4 separate regions of the Homo sapiens genome follow, and all the other regions are linked to region 4. Evidence: promoter capture Hi-C in human tissues and cell types (Jung and others, 2019). All regions are on one chromosome and are shown on one strand. Each heading gives the region's core, a stretch centred on a gene start or on the middle of the fragment in contact. The rest is flanking DNA. Distances are from core to core; before and after follow the strand shown.

Region 1 (3,077 bases), core at 261-2,760, 290 kb after region 4:
CACTAGAATCTTTGCAGACTTCTGCTTCTCAGAAGACCCAGACTCACAGGAGTGGTACCAAGAGTGGTCAGAGAAAAAAGGTGACAAAATATGGGTTTCGGTCTAGATCGTGAATTAGCTAGCAGGTAGAAAGGTCTCCATGATGACTGGTGGAAGGGCAGAGACTCATGTCCTCCTTGATAAGGGATGGCAGCTCGATTGCTAAAGATTTCACTGAGGTGGGCCTTGAAACACCGCTCAGTGGAGGATAATGCAGAGACAGGTGCAATGATGGAAGCATTTGGAAAATATTGGGGGAACAATGTCTACAAGACAGCACAGTTGACTGGTTATTGCAAAGCTGAATTCATGTACTGCAGAAGGAAAAGGAGTCTGGGATGTATTAACTAGCAGTTAATGGTCAAGTGTGAGAGCCAGAGAGCTTCAAGGATAGCTTCTGAAGGGACCCTCATCACCTGGCATGGGTGGGCAGATGCAGTTGAGCAGCAGGTACTTGTGAAAGTGTCAGAGCTCTGGAGATGTGTGGGTGCTCAGTCCAGGCATTTCTGTGATCTGTGAGGCAGAACCTTGGTGGGGAAACCTCTGCATGGCGTTCCCTGTGGACGCTGACTCTACAGTCCCTGTGAGTCCTCTGAAATTGCAGAGGTGGCCCCGCCATATCCTAGTACAAGCGCAGAAGCTTCCCCAACAAGCAACAGGCATCCTCCCCTCTAGGAGGCCAGGGCACAGCTAGGCTTCAATCCCAACAGAACCCAGCTGAGAATATGCTGGGCTTGAGAGGGGAGGAAAAGACTTTTCATCCCAATAATGGAAAGGCCAGCTGGCATGTGTCCACATGGGAGCTAAGGGAGTATGCCTGGGATTGGATTTTGAGGGTGTTTGATCAGACTGTAAATCAGATAAGCAATAGTTAGAAGTAATTTTTTTCAGAATATAAGATTTAACATTGTAGACAGGATGTCAAGAAATGAAGCAAAGCTCCTGGGGTGGCTCTTGGAAGACTGGGTCTTTTTGGGGATGATGGGGCCCCAAAGTAATGGGGGCTAGAAACCAGAGGCCACAACAATGATGAATAGGAAGGTTGGAGGGGTGGCCAAGGGGGCCTGAGCTGCAGGGAGTTTGGGGATGGCTGATACAGCAGATTGTTCTTAGCCTCAGATAGGCCCACAAGGGTGCCACCCCATGCCTGTAATAGTAATGGTAAAGAAGGAAGAAGCGGCAGGCTGAGGACTGCCTCTCCGCAACCAAGACAAAGCCTCCTGCTCAGTCCCCAGGCATACCCAATTTCAGACTTGAAACCCATTGACTGAAGAGCTGGCTTGTCCTGCAAATACAGATTCCTGCAGCATGGTGGCCAGCATATGAGCATTCCCCCAGTCCTTCCTCAAGGGCACCTAAGGCCATTTACTCATGTGACTTTAATCTGGGTAGGGGGAATTACCTGACATTTCAAAGACTATTGGACACAAGGTCTGAATTTCCAGGGATACCTAGAGATTCCACAGAGTCATCTTGGCTTTCCCGGTAGAGTAGGGGACCTGGGGGCCAAGTCATTACTGGATCTGGCTGTTGTCCAGCTCGCAGTGGGCCTGCTGGGTCTGTGGCTTCAGCAGTGGTCTTTCCCAGTTCTTCAGTGGACTGTTAGACAAGAGCTACAGAGCAGGTGGAACTACGCCCACATTAGGGTTCTTGGTTTGTGGGATAAGAGCTATCATAGTGGGAAAGGCCAATTGGAAAAGGTGAAAACCCCCGAAGCTGCCCCCTCAACCTCGCTGAATCTTGGCAGGAGATGGGAAAGAAAGGCAGACTGAAGTCCACCATTAAGGACCTAAAGGGTGCACAGTGTTGGTACCGATCACTGCTCCATCGAATTGTCAGGCTGGCCCCTGCAGAAACTCTATGGATCCCAGAGAACGAATGTCGACTACCACTACTACCAGACTTAACCTAGCAGTAGCCCAGATCACACCATTAGAGCAGATTAGCAAAGCACCAAGAACGGGGCATGTGCCTCTTAGTTTGCCAGTGCATGCTCGACCATTCCATTTGGAAAAGAGGACCAGAAACAGCTCACATAGGACTGATGATATGCACTGCTAATTTAACCACAGTGCTGTATGAACTCTGTGCCTCTTGGCATTGAGACGTGAAGCCAGCTGGACTTCCTGGGTCCAGTGGGGACTTGGAGAACTTTTCTGTCTTACAAAGGGATTGTAAAATGCACCAATCAGCACTCTGTAAAAACGCACCAATCAGTGCTCTGTAGCTAGCAAGAGGTTTGTAAAATGCACCAATCAGTGCTCTGTAAAATGGACCAATCAGCAGGAGTCTAAAAGTAGCCAATCACAGGGAAGATTGAAAAAAGGGCACTCTGATAGGACAAAAACAGAAGATGGGCAGAGACAAATAAGGGAATAAAAGCTGGCCACCCCAGCCGCAGTGGCAACACTCAGGTTCCTTTCCACCTGTGGAAGCTTTGTTTTTTCACTCTTCACAATAAATCTTGCTACTGCTCTCTCTTTGGGTCCATGCCTTCTTTAAGAGCTGTAACACTCACCGTGAAGGTCTGCTGCTTCATTCTTGAAGTCAGCAAGATGAGACCACGAACCCACGAACCAACACTAGGCACAGCATGAGCAGTCCTGGACTGCTTGGCCTAACTGTAGAATACTGTAATGATCAATGACTTCATGCAGACTGAACGAAAGAAACAAGAGGGGGCTCATGCACTGAGAGAGTAAGGAAGACACATGTGATGCTGCAGGTAGGGGGTAAACCCTGCAAAGACTCGGGAGTTGACCACTCCAGTGAAGATTTTAGGGGCCAGAAATTAAGGAGTGCGAGGATTTTGCTCCACAGTGAAAGATAAGTCACTGCATTTTGCATTAACTACTACAAAGAAGTAAGCATGGTGCCTGGGTTCTGGTGGCAACTCATCCCATTCCTAGATTGTGTGTGACACAGAAGGCTTCCAGGTATACCGTGGTGGGCAGGAAAGGGCTGTGCTGTGGGTCCAAGCTGTGGTGCATTCATCCCTACTGCTGGGGCCACACAATCTTGCAGACCCTATGGTGCTG
Region 2 (3,445 bases), core at 408-2,907, 490 kb after region 4:
GAGGGAAGCAAGCTGGTTACTCAGAACTTCTGTGTTGTTTAATGAGTAACAAATACTCCTTTCAGCTGCAGTATATTATCTCATATTTGACACTCCAAGGTATGCACCGGCCTTGGACAGGACATAGCATCAGCTCTTTGGAAGATCCGGTTTGCAGGATTTTCTGTTAGTTGACTACACCCTCCTAGTGACCAAAAAGAGGCCAACTGTCCCCCTATCAGAGGCTAAACGATTGCCAAGTTCACGCTTGCTCTGCCTGGGAGCCAGCTGAGCCAGCTGGGCCACATAGTGCCTGTCCACTGAGGCATTCAACTTCCCGAACTGTGAGGACTCCAGCTCATCCCCAGGCTCCTCAAAGCAACCTCAATCTCTTTGCATAGTTTCCTGACCCTGCTTATTTTAAGGAGGCAAAGACTTGGAAGGGGCTTTCCTGCAGTGCCCCCTAGGACAGAGATCCCCTACCTGCATGATCATCAAAATCAACGGGAAAAGTTTCAAAATCATATTCCTGCTACAACCCAGGCAGCAGGGTCAATCGTACTGGGTACAGAGACCCTGAGCCCAGCAGAAGGGATGCCATTGCCCTGAAGCTGTGGCTAAGGAACCACAGTGTTCAGACAGCAATAGTTCAGCTTGGGACATCCAGAGGTTGGTCTGGTTGAAATTCCAACAAGTCTAAAATTCTGATAATTCTATGATGATGGCTATAAATGCATAAGCATTCTTTTTTGGTACTTAGAGGAATAAAAATAAGATGTAGTAAGCACAGAGTCCAGGATACAGGCAAAATTTTAGCCAGAAAGGGGAATTCATGTGGCCTCTGCCTGGCCTTTATCAAGTCACCTTTTAAATTAATGTCGTAATTGAGTTACAAGTCCAATCCTGTGCAGGTCCAGTTAATTCCTTCTTAAGGAGCTGATAATGAATAATTGTCTGCCAACTTCAAGCGGTTTGTTCCTGGACAAAGTCTAAGCCCTGGACCCCTGGAAAGGCAGGATTCTGAGAACTAAGTGCTACAGGGAACAGGGCCTGGCTGGGAAAAGGTGGCGTTCTGCTGATGAAGCTATTTTTGATCACCTATTGCTTTAGGTCTAGTTGAGGGAGAGAGGTGACTCACACATACATAGTCTGAATAATTTATATAACCTGTCTCAGGCTGTGTAAACACAAGTGATCACATTAACCTTTTCAACATTAGAAATAGAAATACTTGCTAGTTCCATATATAGAAGGGGAAAATGAAGCAAAGAGAAAATGAGTAATTATCTCCAGGAATGAGGTGCACAGAAAATGAGTAATTATCCCCAGGAATGAGGTGCACAGAAAATGAGTAATTATCCCCAGGAATGAGGTGCACAGAAAACGATTAACTATCCTGAGGTTACAGAGAGGTTTGTCCTCCGATTTTAGAGATAGATTCTCTTTGAAAGTGACAGGAGAGCTTTGACGGGGTAGGAACAGGGGGATGTCACATGGCAGCCACGGGAGATAAGAATATTTGAGTTAATGAATGTGGAGTCTTGGGACTAATACAGGTGGCAAGTGTATGATTTAAACAACCATATATTTGTTGTTGTAATGTCCTGTTACAGTGTCCACACCCTGGCACATCCACACCATGGAACGCTACTCAGCAATGAAAAGGAACAACGTTCTGATATACACAGCACTTTGGAGGCATCTCAAGGGAAGCATCCTGAGTGGGAGAAAAACACCAAAAGGTGGCATATCGTATGATTCCACTTATATAACAGCTTATTTAACATGTCTGAATGAGAAAATTATGGAGAAGGAGAACAGGTTAGTGGCTGCCAAGGACTAGGGAGGGGTTGGGTAGAAGTTGGTAGTGGTTATAAAAGGGCAGCACACGGGATCCCTGTGGGGAGCTGCTCTCTGCTTTGCATCTGGACTGTGGTGCCCACAGGATCTGCCCATGTGATGGACATACACACACACACACACACACACACACACACACACACACACACACACACGTAGAGCCAGGGAAATCTGAGTGGGGTTGGCAGATTGCACCAGTGTCATTTTCCTGGTTGTGATATTGAACGTAGTTTTTCAAAATGTTACCACTGGGGGAAACTGGATGAAGGATATGTGGGATCTAACTGCATTATTTCTTACAACTGCATGTACAGTTATCTCAAAATAAAGTTTTTAAAAAATACTTTATAAAGACAAGATGTTAAAAGCGAAATGGAAAAGTCTATGAAAGAAAAGTAGATGGCCTAAAAATATCAAAGCTACCTAAAAACACTTTACAATACCCCACCTTCACTTTAATACATTAGAAAGCTTGCTGGGAGCTGAAATACACACATACACACACACACACACACACACACACACACACACAGAGACAGACTGTGTTCGAAGGCAGCAGGAAAAAGGTAGGTTTTAAAATGTGGGTTTTATTCTTATTCAGGTATGGTGAGGCCAGCAGATCAGAAGATGACTCGATGACTGTCATTGAGAAGACAGTTTGTTATTCACAGTTCCGAAGGGGAGAGGGCAGCACACATCACATGCAACACACCACACGGGCCACACAGGGAAGTGCAGGAGGCGGAGTGAGGGGAAATTGTGACATGAGCCTCTATTGTGGTATCAGCAGGAAGGAACAGAAGAGGCGGGCAAGCAGCTTTAGGACTGGGCAGTTTGCGTAATCTCAGTGGGCTTGGGCACACGGCTGTCTCTAGCTGCCTGTTACCTGGCCCTGGGATGATTAGGGCAGAGGGATAGTGGCCTGGAGTGTGAGAACCTATAAAGGAGGTGGCTGGAATGTGGACTCTGGGCTGGTCGGTTTGCAGTTAAAAGGTGCACTCACTTTACTGTCTCTAGGAACTAGTGAACCCTGGGAGAGGCCATCCCTTCCAGGGTCAGCAAGGCCCCAGATGTCAAAGCATCAGAATGAAAAGACGTGCTTGATAGGAAGCATCGTTGGCCGACACTGATGAGCAGCAGGCCTCCTTTCATTGGCTGGCTTTCACACGCTAACCAGGCAGGACAAAATACTGGAACAAGAAGCCTTCCTGAGGTTCCCAGCAAACATTTCTTCTTCTGCACTACGGAACTTATAACTCGTAGCACCTGATTTTTTTTTAACGCTAAGATCTTACACAGATATTGAAATCTTTTTTTTTTTTAGACGGAGTCTTGCTCTGTCACCAGGCTGGAGTGCAGTGGCTTGATCTCGGTTCACTGCCACCTCCGCCTCCTGGGTTCAAGTGATTCTCCTGCCTCAGCCTCCCAAGCAGCTGGGATTACAGGCAAGTGCCACCACGCCCAGCTAATTTTTGTATTTTTAGTAGAGACGAGGTTTCACCATGTTGGCCAGGATGGTCTCGATCTCTTGACCTCCCACCCGTCTCAACCTCCCAAAGTGCTGGTATTACAGGCGTGAGCCACCACGCCCAGCCTAGATATTTAA
Region 3 (3,380 bases), core at 807-3,306, 370 kb after region 4:
GGCCCTTCCCCTCACTTTCTTCAAATTTGTGCTGAAATGCCCCCTTCTCAATGAGTTTTTCCTCGAATGCCTTATTCAGAATTGCAACCCCATTCCATCCTTGGCATGTCCTAATCGCCCTTCTTGCCTTTTATCCATATCATGTACGACATAGACTCCTGTGATTTAGTTTGTTATGAGCTGTTTCTCACCCCACTCCACTGTACCTAAGCTAAATGAGGGAGGAATTCGTGCATTCACTGGTTTATCTCTAGTGCCTTGAACAGTTTCTCAACAATGAAACGCTGAATGAATAAAAGAATAAATGAATGCCAACAGCAGTTTATCAATGTGCTCCTTCTATTATAAGGAGTGTTCCAAGTTTAAAAAACTGTTCATTTAGTAAGTTTTAAATGAAACTTCAGGTTTCCTAATTTACAGTTCTTTAAAAACTATCAATTACTTAATAAAATTTCTATTTTCTTACCGTGCCTATTTAAGGCTTAGATTTTGGAAAGCAGCAAGACTGTTTTCCATTTGTTTGCCATGATCTCATGCAGCAATCTAAAATAGCAAATGTGTAGTGAAGCGTCTGATGATACTGAAGTAAAAAATGCTGCACCCTGAGAACGTACTGTTATTAATAGCCTGGAGCCAGGAAAAGCTTCCTCAAATCTTGAAATTAAAGTGTGTTGTTTATTTCTCTAATAAGAACATTACTTTTCTTCCTTGAATTTGGTTTGAAAAGTAAAATGCAGAAAAATAGCACTCTTTAAAAGCTGAGGGATCCTATCATGAAAATAAGAAGCTGGGAAGATTCGCATTACCACCAGCCGTGGGTGGCTGTTAAGAGGCAAACACAGCTGGTCCTCACTGACATCCACGGCAAAGGTCAAATGTGCCAGATTCTGAAGATTTATCATGAAAAAAAAAAGAATGTACAATCTTTTATTAATATGTTTATTTTGATTACATGTTAAAATCATCAAGTTTTAGAGAGGCTGCATTAAAGCAATATAGGCTTGAAATTAATTTCAACTGTTTCTTTTTCCTTTTTAATGTGGTTATTAGAAGATTTAAAATTGCATATGTGGACAGTGCTGACAATTTGAAACAAAGGCTAAAGAGACATAACAACAAATTGCAATGTGTGACACTTGATTGGATCCTGGTTTAAGAAATAAACAATTATTATAAAAAACATTATTGAAACACTTGCAGAAATTTGAGTATGTACTGCGTGCTAGATATTATGAAATTATTTCTATGGAATTATTGTTTTCTTAGATATAATAATGGTATCACAGTTATATAGGATGTTGTTCTTTTAAAACAAATGCTAGTATAATTAGGGGTGAAATATCACGATGGCTAAATTTATTTTAAAACATGTGGCCATATATATTTATAATTTAACACTTTATAATCATATTTGTATTTAAATATTTTATTTATGTTATTTTAAAAATATATTTTATATAATAAATATATTTTGATCATGTTATATTTATATATTTACACATTTACATGTATTTATACATATATATCTGTGTGTATACATAGATAGCTAAATATGAATCTGAATGAAAGTTAACTTGGTATTCATTGTGCCATTCTTTTAACAGCCATTCTCTTTGTTAGGCATGTTTCATGACAAAAACTTGTGGAGAAGTTCACAGCCCCCCAAAAACACCTTTTGACTAAAATCAAATGTCAAAATCATACCACAGTGACAATCAGTTGGAAGAAAGCCTGTATAAAGTAGTCACAGTTCAGAGAGTCAGATTATAAATAGCTATTTTAAGATAATGTATATATTTTATGCAATCTTATAGACTAATTTATCTATGAATATACAAAATCCCCTTAAGTCTTGAAGTTGTTTGTTTTGCTTTGAAGAAGCAATACTTTGAGGTATACCAAAGACAACATTTTACCTGCTAGAAATTGCCATTCATCCATTTGAGAGTAGATAGATGAGTATTCACTTTCTGAGGATGGTAACCTTCAGTCCATGTCTTTGGTGTAATAGTATACATCTTTTGAACCATACCAATAGGCCCTACCCATGGTAATCGCTCTCAATCTGACAGCTCCAATTTTTGCATTCACATCCACATCCACTTCTACAGAACTTAATCAACAGTAATAGCCTTAAATACTGCCTGAGGGTTTCTTCTATTAGGATGACATGCAAAACAAAGCTTATAGCAGTACAGAAGACTAATGACACTGTGCTTGACAGGTTTAAGGACTGAGTAATACTGGTTGTGAAACAGAAGTAGTTTTTTGGTAACATATTTATTTGGAAGCAAAGACTATGGTATCACCACATTACTTCAGTCAGAGAATGGTTCTTAATATCACTGCAAACATTAAATGGCAAGGAAAACTAGGTTTGTGGAAGACAATTGTTTAAATTTCTTTAAGTACAAGGAGATATTTGACGTTTATAAGAAAAATCTATTATGGTCCAAAGAATATGTCTTTATGATATCACAGGCACCAACTTAATTCCTGGACAGCTCTAGCTCTTGGGACTTCAGGAGATGATCCTGGAAGTCAATCCAAAGGAAACTGGTGTAAGATCAGGTGCCCTAAAGAAAGTTCAAATGTAACCAGAATGTCTGGAGTGTGGCAAAGTCAATATATAAACTACATATTCACTATGTAATGTAAATATTTTTCTGGAGTTGTCCTACCATTCCTCTCCATCTTGAATTGCCCAGCTCAGAAAACCCATTCCCAGGGACCTTTCCTTTCCCAATCCTGCCAAGGAGGCCCATCATATCAACCCTTGTGCCTCTGTCATGCTTTCTTCTTTTCCTGAGAGGATACTTGACATTTCCTTGTCATTTCCTTATGCCCACTGAGCTTGCTCGAAAGCACAGCTGAGCTTTTAAGGCCTTTGATCTTGCCACAGAGCCTGGATCACAGTAGGTTCTCAACATATGCTCAGAGGAGTGGCTTTCAACATTTTTTGACTGAAATCCCCCATGGTCACCAATACTTTTTTGGGGGGTGGGGAAGGCGTCTCACACTGTCACCCAGGCTGGAGTGCAGTGGCATGATCTCAGCTCACTGCAAGATCCGCCTCCTGAGTTCACGACATTCTCCTGCCTCAGCCTCCTGAGTATCTGGGACTACAGGCACCCACCACCACGCCCAGCTAATTTTTTTTGTATTTTTAGTACAGATGGGGTTTCACCGTATTAGGCAGGATGGTCTTGATCTCCTGACCTCATGATCCACCTGCCTTGGCCTCCCAAAGTGCTGAGATTACAGGTGTGAGCCACCATGCCCAGCCCAGTCACCAGTATATTTTAAATGCAGCTCAGCAGACATGCCCAGAGGCCTTGCCTATATAAACTGGAACAAGTATTTCATTAAAAAGCATTTAA
Region 4 (3,253 bases), core at 735-3,234:
TAAGTTTAAATACTCCTGTCAAAATGCTTTAGCTTTAAGGCACGTTTGATGGAGATTTTAAAAATTCATCTTCCTCTGGATTCAAAGTGCAAAGTCCGCGCGCGGGCCCGCGTTCCCGCCTCCCCGACGGCGCGCACTCGGCGTTCCCGGGCCCCGCGGCGCTACTCAGGCTAGGAGCGTCTCCACCGGGTACGGCAGGTGCGGGCCAGGGCGGCGGACTGAGGCCGCCTGCAGGGCTGCGGGCAGCCGCAGGGGGCAGTACAGGTGCGCGCCGCCGGCCGCCGGGCCTCGGAGTGGCTTGGCGGGGGCCGCCGCCGGGAGAGGTGCAAGCAGGAGGGGCGGCGCGGTCGGTGGCACCTCGGCCTCGCGCGCGCCCAGCCGCGCCGGCTCGCCCGCGCCGTACGCGCAGAGCGGCAGCAGGGCCCTGCAGGGCGCCGCGGGGAGGAGCGCGGGGAACGCGGGCAGCGGCGGGCAGGGCGCGGCGCCCCACTGAAGCGTCGTCCCGGGGGCCGTGTCCCTGAGGCGGCGGCTGCGGAAGGGCTTGCGCAGGATGCTGTCGATGGCGAAGGAGCTGGAGAACTTGCCCGCGGGGCTGGCGCGCTCCTCCTGGCGGGCGGGCGAGCGCATGCGGGGCGAGGCCGGGGCGGCGGGCGCGGGCGGCGGGGCGGCGGGGAGGCCCGGGGCCTCCTCGGGCCGCAGCCCGGGCGCGGGGACCGGCGCGCGGTGGCTGAGGCGCTTGCGGCGGCGGCGGAAGACCCCGTCGGCGAAGGTGTACTCGCTGTTGGGGTTGAGCATCCAGTAGTTGTCCTTGCCCCAGGGCCGCGAGGGGTCGCGCAGCACCTTGACGAAGCAGTCGTTGAGCGAAAGGTTGTGGCGCACGGAGTTGCGCCAGCCCGTGTAGCTGCCGCGGAAAAAGGGGAACTTGCCCATGAGGTACTCGTTGATCTCCGCCAGCGTCAAGCGCCCGCCCGCCGAGTCGCGGATGGCCATGGCGATGAGCGCGATGTACGAGTAGGGGGGCTTGGGCCGCCGCGTATATGGCTTGCTGCGTGCACCCTCGCCGCTCCCCGCGCCGCCCGCGCCTGGCCCCGCCGCCCCGGCCTCCGCGCCCTCCGCCACCACCGCTGCAGCAGCTGCTGCCGGGATCGCCTCCTCCGCGCCCGGCCCGCCTCCCGCACTCTGTTCGCCGTCGCCCTGCGTATCTCTGGCGCCGCCGCCCGCGGCCGGGCTGTTGGCCGCGCAGTCCCCATCTGAGCCCAGGGAGTCGTCTCCCGCCGCCGACAGCGGGGACGGCGCGTCGCTGCCGCCCGCGCCCTCCAGGTCACTGCCCTGCTTGTCCCCGTGGGCCGCGCGAGGGACGAACACCTCCAACTTCATGCCCGCGCACCCAGTCCCTCCCCGGCGTCGTACCCTCTTCCTTCGCGCAGCCTAGAGAAGCTGGTGCCAGGGAAGGGGATGGCGATCCGGGGCCGGGGATCTTCGCCTTTTTCTCCCGGGAGCTCTACCCTGGTCTTCCGAGATAGTCACTTTTCCGGAGTCCTCTTCCGCTGGGCTTTTTCTCTGGAGGGGCTGCAAGTGTTGGGTGGACTATGGGGCGGAGAGGGAGGAGTTGGGTGGGTGTCGCCTTCGGTTCGACGTTGAGACTTTGGGGTGAGTGTGTGCAGGGGCCGCGGTTCCACCCTCGGGTGCCCGAGCACGCCGGGCTTAGAAGGCTTTCCTGCCGGAGAGAAGCAGCATGCGCATCTGCTGCTCGTTAAAGAGCCCAGGAGGGGTTCTTCACTGGCGGTCCCAGGTCCCGCGCGGGCGTCTTCGGGGCACGGAAATGGTGCCGGATGATGTGCGTGCCACCGTGGGGGAAGGTCCGGCGCCTTCAGCCTTGAGCACCCGCGGAGGCGAGTCCCCGAGGCCGCTGCGCCCGCAGCCGCCTTCCCGCTCCCAGCCTCCGGGGCAGCATCTCCCCGCTGGCCTGCCGCGGCTGCGTCTCGCCTCCACCTTCGGGCCGGCCCAATATAACCCTGCGGCGGCTCCGCGGGGGCGGGGCCTGAGCGCGGACGGCAAGGGGTGGGGGAACGAGGTGGCCGAGGTGGTGGCGGCTCCCCAGTTCCCCAGCTCCCCAACGGGCGCGCACCAGGCGGAGGCCACACTGCAGCGCGGCGGCAAAGTCGCTGGCGCAGGTTGTTTGTTTTGGGTCGGCCGGCCCCGCCTTCCTCCTCCCGCCAATGGGGAGCGCGCGCGCCGCTGTGGGTTTGCGCGTGTCTGTGAGTGTGCGTGTGTGCGCGCGCGGGGCCGCTCCGCCAGCCGGCTCCTCCGTTCAGGTGTGGGCCCCAGCCCCGGGCAGCCCGCGAGGGCTCCCTGCGCCCTGGAGTTCGGGGACGCAGTTTAGGCGAGTGCGCCTGGTTGGGGGGACACGCCACAGTTCCCCTAGGGGGACACCTGAAGGGACTGGGTCTAGGGGAGCAGGGACTTTGCTCGGGCCTAAGCTGCACGCGGCGTATGTGCTTCTGTAGTAGTGAAAACGATGCTGCTTACGAAAGCAAACCCCTGTCGTCACTGCAGAGGTGCTGAACAGAAATTGCGCAGGACACTTGCAGTGACCTCTTTCGGGAGCCTTGTGCTGTGCCCCTTCCTATGAGCTCCTTTCAAGGACCATCTTGTCTTTTCCTCTTGTTTTAATGAATGCACTCCTGGGCTTGAAATTGTATGCGCCTTTTTGGATGACCTTTACTCTTGCTCACTAAATGGGCTCCGACTTTCACTTTTCTTTGTCTTACTTTACCTTTTTCTTTACCTGGCTGGTGACTCCTGCGGGAGGACAGCAGCGTCCTCCTCTTCCCCTGGGGCGGCTGTGTCTGGCGCAGGGTGCTGGGCTGTGCCTGCACTTGTGTCCCTGCGGAAGCCTCAGATGCCGCCGAGCTCCGCCGCTTGGTTCCCGGGATCTGACAGTCAACAGGAACGACGGAGAGGGCGTGTTCCCGGGGGCGGGGGCAAGAACAAACCGGTTCACGGCCATTTCTTTCCAATATTCCTTTGGGACTTTTGCTGTGACCTCACTGGCACCAGTGTCGGACAATCTCGAAAGGGGGGACCGTTCCTCACCCCAGGGCGCCCGGGGCGTGATCCCCACGCGGCGTCATTAGTCCAGGGAGCGGGCGCCTCGGCCCCGGGAAGGTGCACTTCCAGCCCGCTGCCCTGCCACGCCGAGTTTCCTCCTTTTTCCTGCCTTTGTTGCACAAAAAGCGACGGAGCCGCTAGT

The links. The method cuts DNA at HindIII sites, captures the fragments that hold promoters and counts their contacts. A contact is called where the count stands out against the background at its distance.
Region 1: a contact is called between a fragment that was not itself captured here and the fragment with the promoter of FOXQ1 in region 4, in 1 of the 25 tissues and cell types used here (IMR-90 fibroblasts).
Region 2: a fragment that was not itself captured here is called in contact with the fragment with the promoter of FOXQ1 in region 4 in 1 of the 25 tissues and cell types used here (lymphoblastoid cells).
Region 3: a fragment that was not itself captured here is called in contact with the fragment with the promoter of FOXQ1 in region 4 in 1 of the 25 tissues and cell types used here (lymphoblastoid cells).

What each region holds. Positions count from the first base shown.
Region 1 is chr6:1,021,001-1,024,077 of GRCh38, reverse strand. The region is part of intron 1 of LINC01622 (long intergenic non-protein coding RNA 1622); the gene reads left to right. Among named protein-coding and RNA genes, the nearest start is that of LINC01622, 79 kb to the left of the region's middle. The HindIII fragment of the contact is 4,755 bases long and covers 1-3,077 here.
Region 2 is chr6:816,027-819,471 of GRCh38, reverse strand. No RefSeq gene overlaps it. Among named protein-coding and RNA genes, the nearest start is that of EXOC2, 120 kb to the right of the region's middle. The HindIII fragment of the contact is 7,865 bases long and covers 1-3,445 here.
Region 3 is chr6:943,943-947,322 of GRCh38, reverse strand. No RefSeq gene overlaps it. Among named protein-coding and RNA genes, the nearest start is that of LINC01622, 160 kb to the left of the region's middle. The HindIII fragment of the contact is 3,955 bases long and covers 79-3,380 here.
Region 4 is chr6:1,310,829-1,314,081 of GRCh38, reverse strand. It overlaps FOXQ1 (forkhead box Q1), which reads right to left and starts at 1,984. Exons shown (of 1, transcript NM_033260.4): 1 at 1-1,984. The coding sequence starts at 1,377. The coding sequence ends at 166. RefSeq lists an enhancer at 814-1,530. The HindIII fragment of the contact is 14,044 bases long and covers 1-3,253 here.